Regions from separate parts of the Homo sapiens genome. Here region 1 is linked to region 2. Evidence: promoter capture Hi-C in human tissues and cell types (Jung and others, 2019). All regions are on one chromosome and are shown on one strand. The core of a region is centred on a gene start or on the middle of the fragment in contact, and the rest is flanking DNA. Distances in the headings are between cores, read along the strand shown. Region 1 overlaps LOC128966623 (a long non-coding RNA gene). Region 2 holds the start of N4BP3 (NEDD4 binding protein 3).

What was found. The method cuts DNA at HindIII sites, captures the fragments that hold promoters and counts their contacts. A contact is called where the count stands out against the background at its distance.
Region 1: a contact is called between a fragment that was not itself captured here and the fragment with the promoter of N4BP3 in region 2, in 1 of the 25 tissues and cell types used here (aorta).

Annotation. Positions count from the first base shown.
Region 1 is chr5:179,611,440-179,617,142 of GRCh38, reverse strand. The region is part of intron 4 of LOC128966623 (a long non-coding RNA gene); the gene reads right to left. HNRNPH1 (heterogeneous nuclear ribonucleoprotein H1) reads left to right here. Exons shown (of 14, transcript NM_001257293.2): 10 at 33-92; 11 at 185-274; 12 at 925-1,017; 13 at 1,548-1,597; 14 at 2,184-2,965. The coding sequence ends at 1,597. Among named protein-coding and RNA genes, the nearest start is that of HNRNPH1, 9.4 kb to the left of the region's middle. RefSeq lists an enhancer at 3,256-3,315. The HindIII fragment of the contact is 3,640 bases long and covers 2,591-5,703 here.
Region 2 is chr5:178,109,810-178,115,602 of GRCh38, reverse strand. It overlaps N4BP3 (NEDD4 binding protein 3), which reads right to left and starts at 2,071. Exons shown (of 5, transcript NM_015111.2): 1 at 1,832-2,071. RefSeq lists silencers at 262-371, 982-1,031, 1,382-1,701, 1,782-2,331 and enhancers at 842-901, 430-943. The HindIII fragment of the contact is 21,734 bases long and covers 1-5,793 here.

The DNA.
Region 1 (5,703 bases), core at 3,161-5,660, 1.5 Mb before region 2:
AACATTTTCAAACTTTTTTTTTCTCATTTCAGAACACAGATATGTAGAACTCTTCTTGAATTCTACAGCAGGAGCAAGCGGTGGTGCTTACGGTAGCCAAATGCTAGGAGGCATGGGTTTGTGTAAATATCACTTTAGTGTCTTTTTTTTAAGCTAACCTTGTATGCCTTTTCTCTCATTTCAGAACACAGATATGTAGAACTCTTCTTGAATTCTACAGCAGGAGCAAGCGGTGGTGCTTATGGTAGCCAAATGATGGGAGGCATGGGCTTGTGTAAATATCGTTAGTTTTTTTAAAAACCAAAACGTTTATATCTGTATAAGTCAATTATAAGTTAAGTTAATCTATTTATTTAATAAGTTTAGCATAAGAAACTTAGGCAAAGCAGTTTCTTGATATTTGAGTTTTGTATCTGGCTTACTTAAATCCTTGTGAGTTATGAAGTTCCTTAGGATAGATAATTCAAATTAGGTTTAAGTAGTCTTGGGGGAGGGGACTACGGAGTGAAACTACTTAAATTTTCTAAGTATAAAGTTTAAATCAATAGCAAAACAGGATTAAGATAAATGTGGGCATAATTAGGTGTATTGACATGCCTTTGATGTATCAAACTGAGGGGGAACCCACTAAATCCAGTCAAGCAGTTTCATAAGATCTTCACAAAATGCCTCTACTTACGGAATCATGTTGATTTTAGTCCTGCTGATGTGTGTACCGTTAGCACTTTGGTTTATCAATATTTGACTGGCTCAAATGATGGATAGAAGGGTGGCCTGGTTATAGACAGTAGGCAGAAGGAGGCAGAGGGTTACAGTAATGTAAGATCAAGACTGGAAAATGATAGCTATAGAATTACAAGCCCGGTACCACCAGGTACCACATCACATAAGAAAAAAGGTTCTAATGTTTTCTTAACTTAACAGCAAACCAGTCCAGCTACGGGGGCCCAGCCAGCCAGCAGCTGAGTGGGGGTTACGGAGGCGGCTACGGTGGCCAGAGCAGCATGAGTGGATACGGTAAAGCCTGTTTGTTACTGTACTTAGAGTAAGTTATGGTAAAGCCTGTTCATTACTGTACTTAGAGTAAGTTATGGTAAAGCCTGTTACTGTACTTAGAGTAAGTCGCAGGCAGGTGCCTTTAGTTGGGAAGATGCAGGCTCCTTTCGGTGAAATTGGGTTATGAAATGTATGCTTTCAATCCAAATGTAACTGTTTTTACTAGCTAATTTTCAGAAACAATCATTGGGAGGGGGAAGTGTTCTTTGAATTAAGAACTAGTCATTGCAGCTTTGGAATACTGTCGAGCCAGAAAATATCTGCCTCCATGTATTAAAACATTAAATAAAGTTGTTCACTTTTTTGTCTTTTGGTTAGCATTAAGTCAGTTTTAGACAGAGGGAGAATTTGAAATAGTAGAATGGTGGTTGGGTTCAGGATCGTATTTATTAGTCAGTTAACCTAGGATTGGTTTTATTTATTTTTTTTCAATTGGTCTAAAGAATGGTGATTTTGGTATTATAGTCTTACCCTACAAAATCCTTTTGCAGACCAAGTTTTACAGGAAAACTCCAGTGATTTTCAATCAAACATTGCATAGGTAAATATTTTCTCAAAAAATATAAATTCCCAATAGCAAATACTGATATGTTGTAATAATGCTTTCTATAGCAGTCAATGGCTCTGACTTAACTCCATGGAGGCTGCCATTTGGGCACAGTGAGTTGCCTTTAGTCCAGCTTGGTTGTCTCACTTCCTGCCCACCATGAATAGGAAAAGCAAGAGACTTCCCCTGTGCTCCCTTTTCTCAAATGCCATTCGAGGGACACATTGTGAATGTTTATGTTAAATTTTTTTTAAAAATGCCTTGTTTAGCTTTAAAAATACGAAGTAATTTTGCAATTTTTGAAAAACACTAGTTTTCCTTTAAACTTAATTTTTCATGTTGATCCTGAAGAATCCGTTAAAATGGTAGCACAAGAGTCTGGCAAGTTGGTACTGCAGAGAAAAGGGGTTAATTGAGGCTTGTTTGGAGTCGGGATTCCCCTTTCCCAAACATGCGTCTCGCCACTTGGACAGCAGCCATTTGTACTCGTATACTTTTTAAACTTTTTCTTGGAATACTATATTTTATTTGACTGGTAGTCTGATATTACTCCTAACTTGTCAAATTGATCTCTTTGCAGGTAACCAAGGAGCAGTGAACAGCAGCTACTACAGTAGTGGAAGCCGTGCATCTATGGGCGTGAACGGAATGGGAGGGTTGTCTAGCATGTCCAGTATGAGTGGTGGATGGGGAATGTAATTGATCGATCCTGATCACTGACTCTTGGTCAACCTTTTTTTTTTTTTTTTTTTTTTCTTTAAGAAAACTTCAGTTTAACAGTTTCTGCAATACAAGCTTGTGATTTATGCTTACTCTAAGTGGAAATCAGGATTGTTATGAAGACTTAAGGCCCAGTATTTTTGAATACAATACTCATCTAGGATGTAACAGTGAAGCTGAGTAAACTATAACTGTTAAACTTAAGTTCCAGCTTTTCTCAAGTTAGTTATAGGATGTACTTAAGCAGTAAGCGTATTTAGGTAAAAGCAGTTGAATTATGTTAAATGTTGCCCTTTGCCACGTTAAATTGAACACTGTTTTGGATGCATGTTGAAAGACATGCTTTTATTTTTTTGTAAAACAATATAGGAGCTGTGTCTACTATTAAAAGTGAAACATTTTGGCATGTTTGTTAATTCTAGTTTCATTTAATAACCTGTAAGGCACGTAAGTTTAAGCTTTTTTTTTTTTTAAGTTAATGGGAAAAATTTGAGACGCAATACCAATACTTAGGATTTTGGTCTTGGTGTTTGTATGAAATTCTGAGGCCTTGATTTAAATCTTTCATTGTATTGTGATTTCCTTTTAGGTATATTGCGCTAAGTGAAACTTGTCAAATAAATCCTCCTTTTAAAAACTGCACTCTGTCTTGTCTGTGCTTCAGTGTCATGTGGACTGAGTCTTGGTGCTCTGTGCCCACCTGGGGCCTAGGGCCACATCTCTGGCTTGGCAGTTGAGGCTGTTGCGTAGATGTCTTCAGTCTTCCCTCCAGTGCAACTGAAGGTAAACTCGTCTTTGGGGCCCTGGTGGAAGGGCTGTATGTCATTTGGCTGCACAGGACCTGATCTGAACTGCCTGTAACTCATTAAGCACTTGCACAAAACAAAGGGGGAGGCGCCAGTGCCCTCACTGCATGCCTGCATGTCTTTGAGGCCTTCATGCTTGGCTGGGAAGGTGCCGGAGGCAAGGGAGGTGTGATGAATATGTGGGTTTCTTCTAGCTCATAAGCTCATAGGTTTGTTTTTTTTTTTGAGGCAGAGTTATATTCTGTTGTCTCAGGCTGGATTGCAGTGGCGTGATCTCAGCTCACCTGCAACCTCCACCTTGTGGGCTTCTGCCTCAGCCTCCCAAGTAGTTGGGGTTACAGGCGCCCACCACCACTCCAGGCTAATTTTTTTTGTATGTTTAGTAGACACGGGGTTTCACGATGTTGGCCAGGCTGGTCTCCAACTCCTGACCTCATGAGATCTGCCCACCTCGGCCTCTGAAAGTGCTGGGATTATAGGCTGGAGCCATTGCCCAGCCTTCACAGATGGTTTTCAAATGGAAGTTTTGAACTTCTGTATTTTTGGGTCATTCCTAAAAATCAATTCCACTTGGAAGCAAAATTCCATGTAAGTCTCCTAAGGTAGAACGATAGGTAGAGATTGAGAGCTAACATGAGAAGTTTAAATGAACTCTTAAATATATCACGTTTTGGTAGTTCGAAGCTCCAACATGATGATAGCAAGTATTCAAGCTGCTTCCAAGTGGTGTACCTGAGCGAGTTAGAAACGCCACACTTGGAGACGAGTTCAGGAGTCCTTTATTAGCCGGCGACCGAGAGACGGCTACCGCATGAAAGTATCTCGGCCTCGAAGAAGGAGCTAGATTTTCTTTTATACTTTGGTTTGGAGAGGGGAGGGGGATTCTAGCTGCAGCCATCTTAGGGAAGAAAAACAGACAAAAAAGTTAAAGACAAATGGTTACAGGAAAACAGTTCCAGGTGCAGGAGCTTCAAATTCATCACAAAGTGACAGGTGAGGGGGCTCTGGGTGTTATCTACCGGACAAACATGGGGGCTTGATGGTACCATCTCTGAGTAAATTGCTGGGAACTGGACATCGCTTGCCTCAGCACCTTATCAGTTAACTGCACTCTTTGATACGTTGAGAGCTTGCACAAGTTAAAGTCCTTGAGGAAAGGGGGGTGGGTAAGGAGCCCTTGATGTCTTGTAAATGAAGGAGCCAAATGGAGTTGGCCTGGTTTTCTCAGCGAAGGGAGTCTTCATATTAAAAACAAGGTTAGGCATGTAAGGGAGAGTCTATTCGTGTTAATACAAGGTTGGGTATCACAAAAGCAGTCCTGAAAAGCACGCTCCCGGGGTTCCTTCAGCAGATGCTCAGGGGTGCTGCAGTGTGGGAACTGCCGCTACTACTTTCATCCCATTAGATTCAAGTCCCTGATAATGAAATTAGAATGTAGTGTCTGAACTAGGCTGTCACATAGGCTTGTGCCTTTTTTTTTTTTTTTTTTTTGAGACGGAGTCTCGCTCTATCGCCCAGGCTGGAGTGCAGTGGCGGGATCTCGGCTCACTGCAAGCTCCGCCTACCGGGTTCACGCCATTCTCCTTCCTCAGCCTCCCAAGTAGCTGGGACTACAGGCGCCCGCCACTACGCCCGGCTAATTTTTTTTTGTATTTTTAGTAGAGACGGGGTTTCACCGTTTTAGCCGGGATGGTCTCGATCTCCTGACCTCGTGATCCGCCCGCCTCGGCCTCCCAAAGTGCTGGGATTACAGGCGTGAGCCACCGCGCCCGGCCGCCCTTTAAAGCGAAGTGTGGATAAGCTTTCTCTTTTCTGCGATTACACGAGCTTTTCTTGAGTTTGTTGTTGGGGTAGAGCTAGGTAGGGTGGACAGAGTGGCTTAGTATCGGTCATTTCTAACCATCTGCCCACAGGAGCAGTGCATGCAGGAGACATGGAGGGGAGGGCTTTGCAGATCTACCTTGCTTGCCCCTACCAGGACTGGACACTAGCAGAGGGAAGGGTCTGGAATGTGTATTGTTGGTTTTGTCTTTGGCAGGTCTAGAGAACAGCAGTTGTCGGGGGAGGCAGTGTTGAGAGTTGTTGAGCTGTGTTCTAAGCTTGGTTACTGCCCTTGAGATCTTGCGTTAATAGTTTGGTACTGAGGCCCAGTATTGAGAAAGATTGAAGGTCCCTTCTCTGGGTTCTTTAGTTAACTGTGGTACATTTAAGGATAAAGCTTGCCCTGTTAGAGAAGGGAGTAGAACTAGAAACTTGGAGTAAGGTTAAACTAAATCCAGAGCCATACGGCTAGTCTAGGGCAGGGGCGGTGGCTAACGCCTGTGATTTCAACACTTTGGGAGGCTGAGGTGGGTGGATCACCTGAGGTCAGGAGTTCGAGACCAGCCTGGCCAACATGGTGAAACCCTGTCTCTGCTAAAAAATACAAAAATTAGCTGGGCATGGTGGTGCACGCTTATAATACCAGTTACTGAGGCAGAGGTTGCAGTGAGCCAAGATCGTGCCATTGCACTCTAGTCTGGGTAACGAGCGAAATTCCTGTCTCAAAAAAAAGTCTAGAAGCATTATGGTTCT
Region 2 (5,793 bases), core at 822-3,321:
GTTCAGCCGCAGGGGAGAAAGCACACAGGCTCCAGGATTAGAAGTCCTCTCGGATCCCACCTTGCATCTCCTCTGGGGTGGGACATTCCAGTCCCCACATGGGCAGGAGTGCTGCCTGCCCTGGCTACAGTCAGCCCCTCCTGAGCCCTGGCCCCAGGGAAAGGTCCCACCACCTGCTGGGGGATCAGCTCTGCTAAGGGGCGTGTCTGCAGCTGCCCCTAAGGAATGGGACTGGAATGTCCCAGCTCCAAAAGGGGGGGGTAGTAGGCAAGGGGGGCCCAGAGAGGGGCTGGGAGAGGCTGGCCCACCCCATCCCCTCTGTGACAGACACTTGAGGCAGAGACAGGGGCTAAAGCCTGCGGAAGTGGTGCTTAGTATCACCATATAGTGCTTCACGGCTGCACCGCAGTCTACAGTTTTTTCTCAGCCCTTCTATTTCATTATCTCATTTCATCTCCACAATAGCCTCGTGGGGGCAAACAGGACAGTAATTACCCTCACGCCATTTTACAGATCGGGAAACTGAGGCCTCGGAAGGCGAGGTGAGTTATCCAAGATCCCACAGTGAGAAGCAATCTCAACTCCCTGGGCAAGGTCCTTTCTACCTCAGCAGGTTGTCCTAAGCCAGGGGTCACGGGTTCCCCTCCATGGGCACACACTGCTGTGTATGTATTGCATATATGTCTGCCCAGCCCTCCATGCCTGTTTCTCCCAAGGACACTTGCAACCAGGCTGCCCTAGACTGCGGTCCACCAGGCCTGGAATCCCTCCTGCTGCCCCCCAGGTCAGGAAGAAATAGAGGAAACCTGCCTCATGGGGACTCCGAGTCGCTATGCTAGCTCTAGAGGCGGTGGCAGAGGCAGGCTGGCCGCATTCATTCACAGTCTGGCACATGCACACCACACGCTGCCAGCCGGTAGAGAAGCCCTGCCTGGGAGGGCCCTGGGAGGAGGCTGATAACCGCGCCCAGGATGGCCTCCTGCGTCCGCTCCCTCCCGAGGACAGCCAGGCCCAATCTGTTCCTATGTGGTTGGGGTCGGGGGGTGGCCCAGTGGGAGGCAACGGGTCTCAGTTCTCTTTCTGGATACAGCCAGGGCCCTGATTTCGGCTTGTCCCCAGGCCAGCCCTCACTTGGGCCAAAGGCTGTGGCCGGGACTGGACCGGGTGCTCTGGCGGTCAAGACCTAGGAATGTCCCCTACCCGCAGACCCGCAGCTGCAGCCTGGTGGACCGGCAGGGGGTTGGGGGATAAAGGAGGTGTGGGAGGAAGCGAGAGATCTCATGGGGAAGTCAGAGGGGCAAACGAGGTTGCATCCCCACGGAATTTGTGTCAGGAAAGCAGGGGTGAAGGCGAGGGTTCCCCAAAGCTGCGGGAGGTCCCGGAGCTACCTGGGGGGCGGGGTGGGAGGCGCGTCTCCTCCTGGCCCCTCCCTGAGGCCTGCCGGGAGCGGCTGGGCCGGGGGGCGGAGGCCGAGGTCAGACGCCGGCGCCAAGGACGCCTGCCCCACCCAGCCGTGGCGCAGGGGTCCCGCGCGCTGCTCCCTGGAAAGCGCGTTTGCAGGGGTTGGGGAGAGCAAGGTAGCCTGCCGCCTGCCCCTCCAGCGGAGCATCGGGGTCGGTCCCCGATCCGGTGCCTCGGTGACCGGGAGCAGGGGACACCTGGGCGCACGCCGCACCTTGCCACCCCCGCCCATCTCTCAGACGGGAGCCTCGGCCAGCGGGACAGCAGCTTTGCCAAGGACGCCCGAAAACAAGACCTTGGCGACCCGCCCCACCCCTCCCCACCCCCCGAGTCCAGCCCGGGTCCCCAGCCCCTCGCGCGCCCCACTTACCATGGTGGCGACGCGCTCGCCGGCCCGCGGCTCCGCAGCCCTTGCGCGTCGCAGCTCCCCCGCGCGGATTTGAACCCTCCTGCAAGGCGTCGGCTCGGGCCGGGACTGCGTGCCGGGTCGGAGCGGCGGAGCGGCAGGCGCCGGGAAAACGCGGGCGGGCGCCGGCGCCGGAGCCGGATTGGCGAGGGAGGGACGCGCTCCGCGGCGCTCGATCGCCTGCCCCAAAGGCGGAGGGAAAACCCGGCCTGACTCACCGGCGCGCGGCAAGCCCACAGCCCGGCCCCGGCCCCCGGATGTGGGGGGCGGGGCCGCCTACCCGCGAGCCAACCTGGGCCCCGCCCGGCCCCGACCGCGCCCCCGGCCCTGACCCGCAGAGGCGCCGCACGGCGGTGGCGGGCGAAACCTGGACCGGCTGCGCCTCGCGTCGCTGCCTCCTTGAGCGCCCCGGCTCGTTCCCGAGGGGTGGGCAGCCCCGAGCGCGGCCCACGCCCCAGAGAGCGCACAGCGCCCCCGCTTCTCCTCCTCCGCCGTTCGCCTCGCCCGCCTCCTCTAAGGAAGAGGCGCGTGAGGTCCCTCACCTCCCTAATTGTAGCCGCCTCCTCTCCGGAAAACCTGATTTCCCCCCTTTGGGGATGAACCACAGTAGTACTTTGAGAAGTGAAAAGATTTTACCCCACGACTCTGGCTGAATTGGGCACAGAGTTATTTTCTTTTTGCCTCCAAAGTATTCTAGGGGCAGCAAAATCAGGTGCCTTCAGGGGCCAGAAAAATTACGCAAATGAGTCGTGAGCTTCCTACTAAGACAGTAGGAAGACATGGAAACAGACACAGACACGTAAAGGAGTCATATTCGAAAAATTAAAACACCGTTTCTAATTCAAAAGTTAAGCATAGAGTTACCATATGATCCGGCAATTATAGTCCTCAAACAAGTAATGTTCTTGGCAGTACTAGTCACAATAGTCAAAGAGCCAAAAGGTGGAAACAGCCCAAACTAACAATTGATGAGGGTGTAAGCAAACAATGGTAGATCCATTCAGTGGAATATTATTCAGCCATAAAAAAGAAATGAACGCCATGTGATGACTCATGTCTGAACTCTCCCAGCACTTTTGGAGGCCAGGAGTTCAGGAACAGCCTGGGCAACTCACAAAACTCCATCTCTATCTTAAAAAAAAAAAGACCTGATGTGGTGGCTCACCCCTGTAATCCTAGCATTTTGGGAGGCCGAGGCAGGCGGCTCACTTGAGGTCAGGAGTTTGAGACCAGCCTGGCCAACATGGCGAAATTCTATCTCTACCAAAAACACCAAACATTAGCCAGGCATGGTGGAGCGAGCCTGTAATCCCAGCTACTCGGGAGGCTAAGGTAGGAGAATTGCTTGAACCCAGGAGGCAGAGTTGCAATGAACGGAGATTGTGCCACTACACTCCAGCCTGGATGATGGCGTAAGCCTGTCTCAAAAAAAAAAAGAAAGAAAAGAAAAGAAAAAGAGGAATGAAACACTGATGATACCTGCTACAACATGGATAAACCTCCAAAACATGGCAAGTGAAAGAAACCAGACACAAAGCCCACATGTGTTAATGATGCCATTTATAATAAGTAAATCCAGACAAACAGAAAGCAGATTAGAGCCAGAGGCTGTGGGGAGAGAGAAAGGCAGAGTGATTGCCTAACAAGCATAGGGTTTCCTTCTGGGATGAGGAAAATGTTTTGGAGCCTGACAGAGGTGGTGGTTGCACAACGTTATGAATATACAAATGTCATTGAATTGTTTGCTTTAAAACGGCTAATTTTATGGTATGCACATTTTACCTCAATTAAAAAACATCTTGTCACTTGTGGAACAGATTTGGTCTACGGCCCACAAATTTGCAACCCCTTGTGTTCTATGCTGTTCTTACCAATTCTTGCTAGGACAGCATAGAACCTCTAGGAAGAACTTCTGGCCAGGCATGGCGGCTCACGCCTGTAATCCCAGCACTTTGGGAAGACGAGGTGGGCAAATCAATTAAGGCAAATGATTTGCCTGCCTCAGCCTCTCAGTGTGCTGGGAGTACAGGCGTGAGCCACCATGCCTGGCTGAAAGAACTTTTTTTTTGAGATGGAGTCTTGCTCTGTCGCCCAGGCTGGAGTGCAGTGGTGCGATCTCAGCTCGCTGCAAGCTCCGCTTCCCGGGTTCACGCCATTCTCCTGCCTCAGCATCCCAAATAGCTGGGACTACGGGTGCCCACCACCACACTCGGCTAATTTTTTGTATTTTTAGTGGAGATGGGGTTTCACCATGTTAGCCAGGATGATCTCGATCCCCTGACCTCGTGATCCACCCCCCCTTGGCCTCCCAAAGTGCTAGGATTACAGGCATAAGCCACTGCGCCCGGCAACTTTTTTTTTTTTTTGAGATGGAGTTTCACCCTTGTTGCCTAGGCTGAAGTGCAATGGCGTGATCTCAGCTCACTGCAACCTCCCCCTCCCAGGTTCAAGCGAGTCTTCTGTCTCAGCCTCCCGAGTAGCTGGTTGGCACAGGTGTGTGCCACCATGCCCGGCTAATTTTGTATTTTTAGTAGAGACGGGGTTGGTCAGGCTGGTCTTGAACTCCCGACCTCAGGTGATCCACCTGCCTCGGCCTCCCAAAGTGCTGGGATTACAGGCGTGAGCCACCACGCCCGGCCAGAATTTCTAATAGAACTGCCAGACTTCAGAATACTTGTCTAAGAAAACTCATTAATAGCTGCTGTGGGTCTCAGCCCTTGAGGAGCCAGTCTGGTAGGGTTACTCACTGGGACAGATAAAGTTTCAGAGCAAGAACCTGTTTGGCTGTTTGGGGGACCCAAGGAAAGGCCTCACTGGAGCAATGGTTTTTGAGATGGTCCTGGAAGCATTTCCACTGAGGAGTGTTCCCAGCAGAGCAGATAGCAGGGCTAGAGAAGGCAGGGCACGTTCAGCTTGCTAGCAAGGTCCAAGCCCTGGGTGGGAAAGGTTAGTGGTGGGAAGGGACGAAGGTGGCAACCGAGAGCAGACCCAGAGAAGCCTCTTGAAGTGGGCGCTGGGAGCCTCCGAAGCATTGAGAGAGAGGAGCTTGTGCACGCAGCTGGACGTGGGGCCTGTGAGGTGGCACAGGCAGGCAGGGAGGTCGGGTCCCCTGGGTCTCTAGGGAAAGAAATGGGGCCAAGGAGGACCTGGAAGCTGGAAGCTGCCGAGAAGGTGTTCATTCTGTCAACTGAGTGGGAGAGACAGTGATAGAGATGTTTATGAGAGGGTTTGAATGAAGGTTCTTATAAGAATCCACTTGCAAGAAATGGCATGAGGAAGAGAGAGAGAGGTCACAGCTAAGTTCTGATGAAAACTCAGATTCTGGGTTGGGTGCAGTGGCTCACGCCTGTAATGCCAACGCATTAGGAGGCCGAGGTGAGAGCATTGCTTAAGCCCAGGAGTTCCCTGGGCGACATAGCAAGACCCCATCTCTATAAAAAAATAAAAAATTAGCCAAGCCAGTGGTGCCTATAGTCCCAGCTACTCGAGAGGCTGAGGCAAAAGGATCCCTTGAGCCTAGGAATCAGAGGCTGCAGTGAGCTATGATCGAACACTGCACTCCAGCCTAGGTGACAGAGCAAGACCCTGTCTTTAAAAAAAAAAAGGCCGGGCACGGTGGCTCACACCTGTGATCCCAGCACTTTGGGAGGCCGAGGCAGGAGGATCACGAGGTCAGGAGATCGAGACCATCCTGGCTAACACGGTGAAACCCTATCTTTATTAAAAATACAAAAAATTAGCAGAGTGTGGTCGTGGGCGCCTGTAGTCCCAGCTACGCGGGAGGCTGAGGCAGGAGAATGGCATGAACCCAGGAGGTGGAGCTTGCAGTGAGCCGAGATGGTGCCACTGCACTCCAGACTGGGCGACAGAGCGAGACTCCGTCTCAAAAATAAATAAATAAATAAATAAATAAAGGCAGGACACAG